Regions from separate parts of the Homo sapiens genome. Here region 1 is linked to region 2. The links are contacts of gene promoters, found by promoter capture Hi-C in blood cells and fetal thymus (Javierre and others, 2016). All regions are on one chromosome and are shown on one strand. The core of a region is centred on a gene start or on the middle of the fragment in contact, and the rest is flanking DNA. Distances in the headings are between cores, read along the strand shown.

Region 1 (6,324 bases), core at 1,960-4,459, 250 kb before region 2:
AGTGAGCAGTGGGTGAGTGAGAGAAGCTTCATCTGTATCGATAGCTGCCCCCAACCACTCGCATTATCACCTGAGTTCCACCTCCTGTCAGATCAGTGGTGGCATTAGATTCTCGCAGGAGCAGGAACCCTATTGTGAACTGTGCATGTGAGGAATCTAGGATGTACATTCCTTATAAGAATCCAGTGCCTGATGATCTGTCATTGTCTCCCATCGCCCCCAGATCAGACCATCTAGTTGCAGGAAAGCAAGCTCAGGGCTCCCACTGATTCTGCATGATGGTGAGTTGCATAATTATTTCATTAAATATTACAATGTAATAATAATAGAAATAAAGTGCACAATAAATGTAATGTGCTTGAATCATCCAAAAACCATCCCCTCAACCCCAGTCCATGGAAAAATTGTCTTCCACAAAACTAGTCCCTGGTGCCAAAAACGTTAGAGATTGCTGGATTATAGCCAAAATTTAAAATTTTCATGGTCAACATCTTCCATCATTTGAACTTTGAAGATCTAGTTAATCTTATCTCCTCTTCATTTCCCTTCATGCTGTTGGCAGATAGGTCTCCTTTGTGGAACATGATCACATCACACTTTTGCTTTTCTTCATGTCTGACAAACCTTCAGAGCTTCTCTGGTTTATATAAATCCTACCAGTCCTTAAAGCTCTATCTCATGTCTGAGACTTTCCATGAGGCTTTATCTGATAATTCTGTGAAGTAAAACAACTAGTATTTCTTTGCTATAAAAGATGTCACCCACACAACCCTAGGCATCAAGGGATTAACAGTAATGCCCTCAGCTACTGCATGAAGGAAGTTTAATTGTGTTACACAAAAAGTGTCATGGGCCTTTACTTATGTGGGATCTATGTTCAGTTCGGACTCCAACCAGAAAGACCCCTCCTACTGGAAAAACCTTCACTCTTTGTTAACAGCCCAATGGTCAGGGAACAGATGACAAAGTCCTACAGGGAGAGTGCAAAACCAGAACACTCAGGTTGGAGAGATTGCGCTGCAGAATTATCCAGCCATTCTCAGCTTCAACAAGTAAAGGTTTATGTACCTCTGTAATGGGAATGATAACAGTTTATTCATCAGGGTTTTCTTTTTACTATATAGAGTAAATACAATGAGATGTGGAAAAACATTTTGTAAAATACAAAAGGGGAGAAAGACAGGAACTTATATATATTAAGAATTCACCAAGTGCCAGGCAGTGCAATGTAAAGCCTGTAGCACAGATGTATCTTTCCTCTTGGTGAATCCCTGCTCACTGCACTGTGTTGGAGCATCAGCCAACTGCAACATTAATCTCCAGACTCTTCATCCTCTGTGTTTCCTTTAGGAAGAGTTCCACACTTTGATCTTCAGACTTGCTATTAAGGGCATTCTCTGCTGTTTGTCTAAATTTAAAGTGGTTTCAAAGGACCTTATGTAGCTTTTTGTTATTTTTTAATGACTTTAGTATAGTTATAATTCAAAACTGTTTTATTTGCTCTTTTTAAGGGGTGACTTTTTAGTTAAATAATTTTATTACTTAATATCTCTCTCAGGAAAGTCGTTGCCCCAAGAAGAGCCAGTGATCACAAGCCCTTCCTAAGACAGATCTCCTAAGCAGGCACTAAATGAATCCCTGGATACAATCATAGAGTAAAGACCAGTAGTCTGTGCTAACAGGCACCATGTCCTTTCATTCTATGAAAAGGAAAAGGGAAGGAGGCAAATAGGTACTTTATCAGTATAGAGTCAAAAGAGAAGGGCCATTCAGAACCTGGGTTCAAATGTCATTACATTGCTTCCGGTTTGACCCTGGGAAAGCTACTTAACCTCTTTGCATCTTGATTTCTCTTATAAAAATCCACATACTAATACCAAAGCTGATGTAAGGATTAGTTGATGTAAAATACGTAAAATTTAGCATAATAACTGACATACACACTCACTCAATAAGTATATATCATTTTATAAGAGCAATCTTTGTGATGTATGAACCACAGAAGAGCTATATATCCCTGCTACATTTGTCCAGAGAAAAACTCCACAGGAAATTAAAATAACAACTGCACTTTAATATATTTATATTGCAAAGAGACATATCAAGCCAGTGTAACTAAACCACAATCTTCTAATATCTGTTAGGTTCCAGTTCTTGTAAATGGTATAAAATTTACAAATAGGCCCCCGCTGAGTATAGCCACTTATATGCCTAACAGGTAGAGAACTGAACTCATCATCTTGCCTCACACCAACTGTTCCTTTTTCTGATTATCTGATTTCTATTAATAGTTCACCATTCTCCTAGTAATTCATGCTTGAAACTGTAATTATTTTTGACAAAAACTTCTTCACCACTGCCTACTGATCTTACTTGCACTCAAAATCTAACTCCATCCATCTCCATTTCTGTGCCTACCCACCTAGTTCAGGCCTCCAACCTGGTTTTCTTGCTTCAAGTTTATTTTTTCCCACCAAATTCTTCCTCCATATAAATCTTAAGCAGACTCTGATATTGAGCCTGTTTCACACCATTACTTCTGCTTCTGCTCAAATATCTCCAGTAGCTCCCTATTGCTTACCAAAATAAACTTCAAGCATTCAACATACTTTATGAGATGACGCTGCAATGCCTTTCTGGCTTTGTCTTTAATTACTCACCGTGTGCATTCTCCTTGAGCTTCCCTAAGCAATCTCCCTACTATTGTTGTTGTTTTTACCTCCATAAATCTGGTATTATTTATTATATTTTGAAAAACTTAAACTCATTTAACCTGTCCAAATAATGTCACCCTTTAAGGCCAAAAGCAAATGCTATCTCTCTGGGAAATGACATAGTAGGTCTGCAGAAAATGTTTTTTTTAAAATAAATAAATAATGTACGAATAAAAGAATAATGAATGAAATTAAGTTCTATCCTGAAGGGCCTGTTTGGTAACAAAAGATCAAGAATTAAAATAGAATCATTAAAAGATTTGTGTGAGATTTGATCAAGTAGATACAAAAAGAGGCAAAGAATCTTTACTTTGATGACAAGAATAAATGGTTAGACATGGGAAACGGAACTAGAACCGAGAATGGAATATGATGGTCATGATATCAGCAAGCAGAAAAGGCCAATGAGAGAGGCGTCAAAGCCAGGATTGGTGAAAACAGCACAGACTCTTCTCAGAGGGGCAAATTGTGTGAAAAGTGGATTGCTACCACATAGGACTCAGATTTTTCTCTTGACCATGGTTCATAAAATGTGGTCTGCAGACCCCAGGGAATTTCCCAGATCCTTTCAAGTATATACAAGATCAAAACTATTTTTACAATAATACCAAGACATTACTTGGCTTTCTCAGTGAGTTGACATTTGCACTATGAAACAAAGGCAATGGTGGGTAAAATTGTTGGTGCTTTAACAGAAATTAAGGCAGTGGTACCAAAAGTGTACTAGTAGACATTGAATTATTTACTGCTATATCCCAGAAAAGCAAGACAGTTTCATTTAATATTATTCTTGATAAAATAGCATGATTAATTTTATTAAATCTCAACCCTTGATTATGTATGTTTTAAAATTCTGTGAGACAAAATGCATAATGTATTCCTGTTGCACACCAAAGTTCTAAGGTTATCTCAAAGAAAATGATTTTTGTGCTTGAGTCGTGAGTTAAGCCACTATTTTACATGGAAAATTATCTTTACTTGAAAGAATGACAGACAGATAAACTATAGTTATTCAGACTTAGGTATGTGTCAGAACTTTTCTCAAAAATAAGTGATCCCGTCACTTCAAGGAAAACAACTCACAGCGTTTGTTGCCAATGATAACATTTGAGCTTTCAAACAAAATTTAGAATTTTTTAAAACTCATATCTACCTCTATGAATTTGGCAGCTTCTTGATTCTTCAAAAATTTTCTGATGAGATCAGTGGTGACAATAACACATGTGATTTTTTTGGGGTATTTCAACATGAAATCTGTCAGCACTTGGAAGATATGCATAACTCAATGAAGCACTATTTTCCAAATGACTAAATGCATGATGTTGCAAAATAGCGCATGGAATCTTAATCACAGAAAGTTCATCTCAATCTGTTGGTGCTAACTCCAAATGGACTGCTGCTACACAACCACCCTACTTAAGGGTATTCTTGAAGGGAAATTCTCTCAACTGCAGATCTGTAAGCAGTGTACCTGATCAACTACTTTCTATAAAGGAAGAAAAGGCCTGATGTATAGATGTACATGGACCTTTGAATGATGGCAATTGGCTTGGTTGGTTAGTCAGACAGGCCTAGAGGAGAAAGACTGGAAGATGGGAAATAAAAATATCCAAGGAATAAATGTATGGGTAGACCACTGGAGTAGGCTCAAAGTGTGCAGAAATTTGTGTGCTACCTCAATGCCTATCAGAGAGCCTATACTGCAGAGAAAGCACTAAACAACCAAGTAGACAGGACTTGTCTAGTAGAAATCATTCAGTCTCTCTTCTCAGCAATATCTGTGTTTACACAATGGGCCTATGATAATTACATGGCCATGGTGGCAGGGATAAAGGCTGTGAATGATCCAATAGCATGAACTCCCTCTCTCCTGGGCCACTGCTGCTTGTCCAGTCTATTAGCAGCAAAGATAAATGCTAAGTCTTCATTATGGCACCATCCCTTAAGAAGGCTAGTCAACCATTCAGTGGGAAATTGATTATATTGGACTCTTTCAACCCTGGAGGGGATAGCAAATTGTACTTATCAGAATTGATACCTATTATGGGTATGCATTTTTCTTCACTGTTGTAGGTACCTTTGTCAGCACCACCCACCGTACAAGAACTTACTGAATGCCTGATTTACTGGCATTGAATTCTACCTATTTTTTTATATCAAAGAGCCCATTTTATGATAAAATAGGTGTAATAATGGGGCATAAACATGAAATTGGCCATCCTAATGGAACAATAAAATAATCTAATAAAGACTTAGCCAAGGAACCCATGCAGGACTAACACTTCAAAAGGATAGGGTATTGTTCTCAAGAATAAGATAGGTGCATTAAATGTATAGCTGATGGCTGGGCACAGTGGCTCACGCCTGTAATTCTAGCACTTTGGGAGGCCAAGGCGGGCAGATCACCTGAGGTCAGGAGTTTGAGACCAGCCTGGCCAACATGGTGAAACCTTTTCTCTACTAAAAATACAAAAATTAGCTGGGTGCGGTGGCGTGTGCTTGTAATCCCAGCTACCCAGGAGGCTGAGGCAGGAGAATCGCTGGAACCCGGGAGGTGTAGGCTGCAGTGAGCTGAGATTGCACCACTGCACTCCGGCCTAAGTGACAGAGTGAGACTCCATCTCAAAAAAAAAAAAAAAAAAAAAAAAAGTATAGCTGATTTCTAGTGGTGTGTTTCCAATAGCCAGAATATACAGGTCCAGAAACCAAAGGGTGGTTGTAGGAATGGCTCTCACCAACACTCCCATTGACCCCTTTGCAGAATTTGGGCTTCCTATCTGTGCATTCTTAGGCTTTTCAGGATTAGAAGCACTTGTTTGGTATGAAGGGGACTTCTATGAGGGCACACATGAAGTCTCCATTGAACTGGAAACTATAACTATCACATGATCATTTTAGATCACTTGTGTCAGTGGACCATCAATGAAAACACTTACTATCTTGGTGGTGATAACTGACCTTGATTACCCATATGAAATAGAGTTGCTGCTACCCAATGGAGACAGGAAGTCCGATGCATGGAACACATAGGATTCACTGAGTTATTTCTTCGTGCTCCATGTCTGGTGATAAGTATAAATGGGTAATTGTAATAATTAAGACTCACTGAAGAGCAAGAATTAGAGTTCAGACCCTTCAGAGATGATGATCTGGTTGCCCCCACCCAGTCAAGCAACACAGACTCCCTGAAATGGTAGCCAGGATGAGACAAACTAGAATAATCTTTTTCACATCCTTTCAGCCTACCTTTTATACCAACTATTGCTATGGCAACCAGTTTTGTGCAACTGTACCACATATTTATCATTTCAAAACCTGTGCTGCTCTGATGATATGGCATGGATGCCAATGAGAACCCACTCTGCGCTTAGGCATGTACAACCTGGAAGAGTAAAGAAGTTAACACTCTCTGGGACAATCTTTGACTGCACTTGTAATCTATTGCTGGATAACAAGTTACCAAATCTAGCAGCCTAAAACAATAACATGTATTATATCCCAGTTTCTGTGGTCAAGAGTACAGACACAGCTTATTTGGATTTTCTGCTTCCAGGTCTCTCCAGGCTAGAGTCAATGCATCAGGTGGGCTGTGTTCTCATTGGGAAGCTCA
Region 2 (5,884 bases), core at 2,867-5,366:
TTATTTGACTAAGTGGAAAGAGATTCTTTAAAATGTATAACCTGCCATTATGTAATTTGGTTTCATTTTATTCTACCTGTTGTGTGAGTTTAGTATATTTAATTTACTTTTTGTTACTCTTTACATACTGTTTATTTTTGTTAGTTTTTAATTGAAGATGGACTGTTGAAATTGTATAGGACCAGTGTCTTATTAATATGATTAATATATTTAGAAGAGCCACGTGAAACCCATGACAAAATGAATGTGAATATTCTTTCTAAAAATTTAGAAAATGTTATCTTTTTGCATTTATTATGTAAAACTGTTTTACAGTATCAAAATTTTTCACTTAAAGAAAAAAAATGCCATGAAACATTTGAACTGATGAGCCACAGAACTTCAGTTGAAATTTTTTTCACTTTTTAGCATGCTAAATATACATCTGAGTTTAAATGTTCTGTTTAATGGCCATTCATAAATTCAAGCACTACCACTGGTCAGTTTTGTGTGATAGAATAAAAATATGTTACCTGCAGTGTAAGTACAGCACACTGTCAAATTCTTTTCCTTAAGGTGCACAGTAAATGTACAGATAGTTATAGGCCACTGTTTTGTAATGTAGTACATTTCTAATCTATTATTCCTAACCTATTATAACTGTTTGCAGAAAGAAAAGAATTTTTCTAATAATCTGTAAAATTATGCTAACTTCTACAAGTAGGCTTCTAAATAAAATTTTTAAAAAGAGCAAACGGTGATCAAGTGACTTTTAATACAATATGATGACTAAATTATTGCTAATTTGTTTTAATCCCCCCTTTTGTGGGGATAGGGATAGCTGCAAAGGATGGCAAAGGGCTTGAAAGGGATTCAACAGTGAGAATCCCTGAAGTATGCTTTGCTTGGTGCCTTATATTCATTCTTCTCGAATCCTCTATGAGAACCTTAGGTGGACGTTAGCCAGATTTTATACATGAAGATGCTGAGGCTCAGAGAGGTTGAAAGTCTCCAAAAGCTGCGGAGTAAGAGTGGTAGCCGACTCTTACTTTAAGAGTAAAAGCACAAGTTTGAATCTGTATCTCCGTGGTACACTTAAATAGAACTCTAATAGCACTTCACTTCTAAATGTCAGGAATATAATCCACTGCTTGAATCTATATTGAGTAATGTAACCCCTTTGTTATGAGTAGCACCACAAAAAAACCCTACTATTAAACATATACGAAATCCATATGAAAGGGTTTTTTTTTCCCCCCTCAGATCACCTATTAGTCCATACTGAGTCAACATCAGATGAGTTCCGAGACATCATTCCTCTCTGGTTTTCCCCCACCCTCCTTTCTTCCCATTCTTGCTCTCTGCTCAGGGTCCAGTTGCTTCTGGCTGTCATTTGGTTTGGTTTTATTAATTGGGGAGAAAAAGATGGGAGGGCCTGCCGGTTCCTCCTATCTTGTTCATAGCAATAAGGATTAAGGAAAACGGCCCCTCATTGTCCAACCTCGTGAAACATCTACAAGATCATTTTCTTGCTAATACTGGCATGCTTCGACTCTAGATGATGTATGTTGTGCCATTATGCTAGTTGAATCTTCTGCATCTCACAAAATATCACTTGTGGGAATAATAAACCAGGAGAGTGGTGACCTACCACAGTAATTTGGTGGGTGCGTCAGAGGCATCTGAACCAGAGCAACTCCAGTAATTTGGTGGGTGCGTCAGAGGCATCTGAACCAGAGCAACTCCATCTTGAATAGGAGCTGGGTAAAATGAGGCTAAGATCTAGGCTGCATTCCCAGATGATTAAGGCATTCTAAGTCACAGGATGAGATAGGAGGTTGGCACAAGATACAGGTCATAAAGACCTTGCTGATAAAACAGGTTGCAGTAAAGAAGCCAGCCAAAACCCACCAAAACCAAGATGGCCACGAGAGTGACCTCTGGTTGTCCTCACTGCTATACTCCCACCAGCACCAAAGACAGTTTACAAATGCCATGGCAATGTCAGGAAGTTACCCTATATGGCCTAAAGAGGGGAGGCATAAATAATCCACTCCTTGTTTAGCATATCATCAAGAAATAACCATAAAAATCGGCAACCAGCAGCCCTTGGGGCTGCTTTGCCTATGGAGTAACCATTCTTTTATTCCTCTTTCTTAATAAACTTGCTTTCACTTTATGGACTCGTCCTGAATTCTTTCTTGCATGAGATCCAAGAACCCTCTCTTGGGGTCTGGATTGGGACCCTTTTCCTCTAACAGGTGTAATATAAATATCTGTTGAGTGCTAACTATGCCAGGCACTATGCAAAGTGTTTAGTGAACATTCTCCACCTACTCAAAACCTCTTGAGATTTTTATTTTGTATATGTTATCTCCACTGGTTTTTTTGGCGGGGATTGTTTTGTTTTGAGACAAGGTCTCGCTCTGTCGCCCAGGCTGGAGTGCAGTGGTGCAATCTTGGCTCACTGCAACCTCCCTTCCCGAGTTCAAATTATTCTCATACCTCAGCCTCCAGAGTAGCTGGGATTACAAGCATGCACCACCATGCCCAGCTAATTTTTGTATTTTTAGTAGAGACGGGATTTTGCTATGTTGGCCATGCTGGTCTTGAACTCTCGGCCTCCTGTGATCTCCCACCTCGGCCTCCCAAAGTCCTGGAATTACAGCCATGAGCCACTGCGGCAGGCCCATTGTTTTTAAAGATGAGAAAAGCAGAGATCAAAGAGGTTACTTGGTGAATGCCACAGGTAAGGAAATGACAGAGCAAATCCAGGTCTGAATCCAAAGCCCATGCTCTCAAGTGCCTGTGTTTTAGGCCAGGCAAGGTGGCTCATGCCTGTAATCCTAAAACTTTGGAAGGCCAAGTTGGGAGGATCACTTGAGGCCAGGAATTCAAGATCAGCCTGGGCAACACAGGGAGACCCTGTCTCTACTAAAAGAGAAAATAACCAGGCGTAGTGAGGCACAAAGCGACTTGAAGGCTAAGACAGGAGGATCACGAGCTCAGGAATGCGGAGCTGCAGTAAGCTATGATCTCGCCACTGCACTCCAGCCTGGGCGGCAGAGTGAAACTTCATCTCTTAAAAAACAAAAAAAATGTTATAAGAGACAGTATTTTCTGTCTTTGGGTTATATACAATAATCCTTGGCCATGTGTTTTAAAGCATACTGTTGATCACCGACGTGATTAATGGATTTAAATCTGCACAGCGGCTCATGCCTGTAATCCCAACACTCTGAAAGGCCGTGGCAGGTGGATCATTCAGGTCATGAGTTCGAGACCAGCCTGGTCAACATGGTGACATCCCCATCTCTACTAAAAATACAAATATTGGCGGGGCACAGTGGCGTATGCCTGTAATCCCAGCTACTTGAGAGGCTGAGGCACGGGAATCGCTTGAGCCCGGGAGGCGGAGGTTGCAGTCAGCCGAGATTGCGCCACTGCACTCCAGCCTGGGCGACAGAGCGGGAGTCCATCTCAAAAAATAGAGACTTCGCATCATTTCTGCTTAATATATTTGTGGTGTCTAGAGTTTTATTGTGATACCTGAGTCTAGGAAATGTGGTAAAGCCTCTGCAGCAGACATAAAGCCTGCAATTCATGGCTGTGGCCAGGCTCTCCTCACCTGTCCTGCATCTACAAATTATTTCCGTTATGGTAAGGAGAGCAACTCGTGGGGAATGTGGACAGGAACATGCGTGAATCCAAGGCAGAGGTTTTGCCCCGGAAAAAGCAGCTTCTGGCAGGGGATGAAAGCCAGCAGAGTTCCAACCGGGGTGCCCTCTCCTTCACGCAGGCCCCACTACCGTGTTGACTTAGGAAGAAAGTTTCTCGGGAGACTAAGGGATTTGGGGGCAGCGGACGCCACTGGAGGGAGATGAATTCACCTAGGGAGCCGGGGAGGGGCTTAGGGTTGCCGCTCCAGGCACAGCTGCTGGAAATCCTAGTCTGTTTTTTCTGCCTTCGCGTACAACGGGCCAGCTCACCCCACCTGGCAAAGCTGCAGGGCTTTTCCACCAGGCGGACAGAAGGGCAGCCCTCTCGCCCAACCAAGAAGCCGTGCTACCCCGGCTTCGACTCCTGGCTTCCGGGTTTTCTCCCCGCCTATTCCGTTTCCGGCCGTTCCCACCCCTGTTTTCGGTCGGCCCGGGTGTTCTGCAAGCTGGTCAAAAAGGGGAAGCGGCCCAGATATGTTAAGTTCTATGGCCGCTGCAGGGTCTGTGAAGGCGGCGTTGCAGGTGGCCGAGGTGCTGGAAGCCATCGTGAGCTGCTGCGTGGGGCCCGAGGGACGGCAAGTTTTGTGTACGAAGCCCACTGGCGAGGTGCTTCTCAGCCGGAATGGAGGCCGCCTCCTGGAGGCGCTACACTTAGAGCATCCCATAGCCAGGTACCCGCGTCCCACACGCTAACCCGTAGCCGGGCACCCCAGGCAGCCTCTGTGGAGCTCTTGTCCCATCCTGAGGCGATGCGTACTTAGAAAGACTGACCTCGGGTGAAACCGCTGTATGCTCGGAATTAGAGCCCTGCCCAAGGGAACACTCCTGCACCCCAAATCTTACCAATTCTCAAGACCACTTCTCCCCACTCCACCCAACGGTGGAATCTTGGAATAGAGCAGAGTTTTTTCCAAGAAAGGAAAAAACTAAGGATGTATCCAAGGAACAATATTCTCATTTTATGCTTATGGCTGTGTAAACATGGTTTTAAGATGTGGGAAGCCAGCCTTCTGAAAATGAGTTGCTTTATTTCTTTTTTGTACAGGATGATAGTGGACTGTGTTTCCAGTCATCTCAAAAAAACAGGAGATGGTGCAAAAACATTTATTATCTTTCTTTGCCATTTGCTTAGAGGACTTCATGCAATCACAGACAGAGAAAAGGATCCTTTGATGTGTGAAAACATTCAAACCCATGGAAGGCATTGGAAAAATTGTTCTCGGTGGAAATTTATTTCCCAGGCTCTCCTAACGTTTCAGACACAAATATTAGACGGTATTATGGACCAGTACCTAAGTAGACACTTTTTGTCTATCTTTTCGTCTGCTAAAGAGAGAACATTGTGTAGGAGCTCTTTAGAGTTGCTCTTAGAAGCATACTTTTGTGGAAGAGTGGGAAGAAATAATCATAAATTTATTTCACAGTTGATGTGTGACTACTTTTTCAAGTGTATGACTTGTAAAAGTGGGATTGGTGTATTTGAGTTAGTGGATGACCATTTTGTAGAGTTGAATGTTGGTGTCACTGGCCTTCCTGTTTCAGATTCCAGGATCATAGCTGGTCTTGTGCTTCAGAAAGATTTTTCTGTGTACCGCCCAGCAGATGGTGACATGCGAATGGTGATAGTAACAGAAACCATTCAGCCTCTTTTTTCCACTTCTGGATCAGAGTTTATTCTAAATTCAGAAGCACAGTTTCAGACATCTCAATTTTGGATTATGGAAAAGACAAAAGCAATAATGAAACATCTACATAGTCAGAATGTAAAATTGCTCATATCTAGTGTGAAACAACCAGATTTAGTTAGTTATTATGCAGGGGTGAATGGCATATCAGTGGTTGAGTGTTTATCATCAGAAGAAGTTTCTCTTATCCGGAGGATCATTGGTCTTTCTCCATTTGTACCACCACAGGCCTTTTCGCAGTGTGAAATACCTAACACTGCTTTGGTGAAATTTTGTAAACCTCTTATCCTTAGATCCAAAAGATATGTTCATCTAGGCTTGATAAGCACATGTGCATTTATACCACACTCTATAGTTCTTTGTGGACCAGTGCATGGTCTCATTGAACAACATGAGGATGCTTTACATGGAGCACTTAAAATGCTTCGGCAATTATTTAAAGACCTTGATCTAAATTACATGACACAAACCAATGACCAAAATGGCACTTCAAGTCTTTTT

What was found. The method cuts DNA at HindIII sites, captures the fragments that hold promoters and counts their contacts. A CHiCAGO score of 5 or more calls a contact.
Region 1: a contact is called between a fragment that was not itself captured here and the fragment with the promoter of BBS10 in region 2, in 1 of 17 cell types (neutrophils). The highest score is 5.4, in neutrophils.

Annotation. Positions count from the first base shown.
Region 1 is chr12:76,592,911-76,599,234 of GRCh38, reverse strand. The region is part of intron 3 of LOC105369850 (a long non-coding RNA gene); the gene reads right to left. Among named protein-coding and RNA genes, the nearest start is that of OSBPL8, 36 kb to the right of the region's middle. The HindIII fragment of the contact is 6,362 bases long and covers 29-6,324 here.
Region 2 is chr12:76,346,647-76,352,530 of GRCh38, reverse strand. It overlaps BBS10 (Bardet-Biedl syndrome 10), which reads left to right and starts at 4,116. Exons shown (of 2, transcript NM_024685.4): 1 at 4,116-4,369; 2 at 4,744-5,884. The coding sequence starts at 4,173. OSBPL8 (oxysterol binding protein like 8) reads left to right here. Exons shown (of 24, transcript NM_020841.5): 24 at 1-734. RefSeq lists enhancers at 3,715-3,764, 2,911-3,860, 3,861-4,810. The HindIII fragment of the contact is 11,737 bases long and covers 1-5,884 here.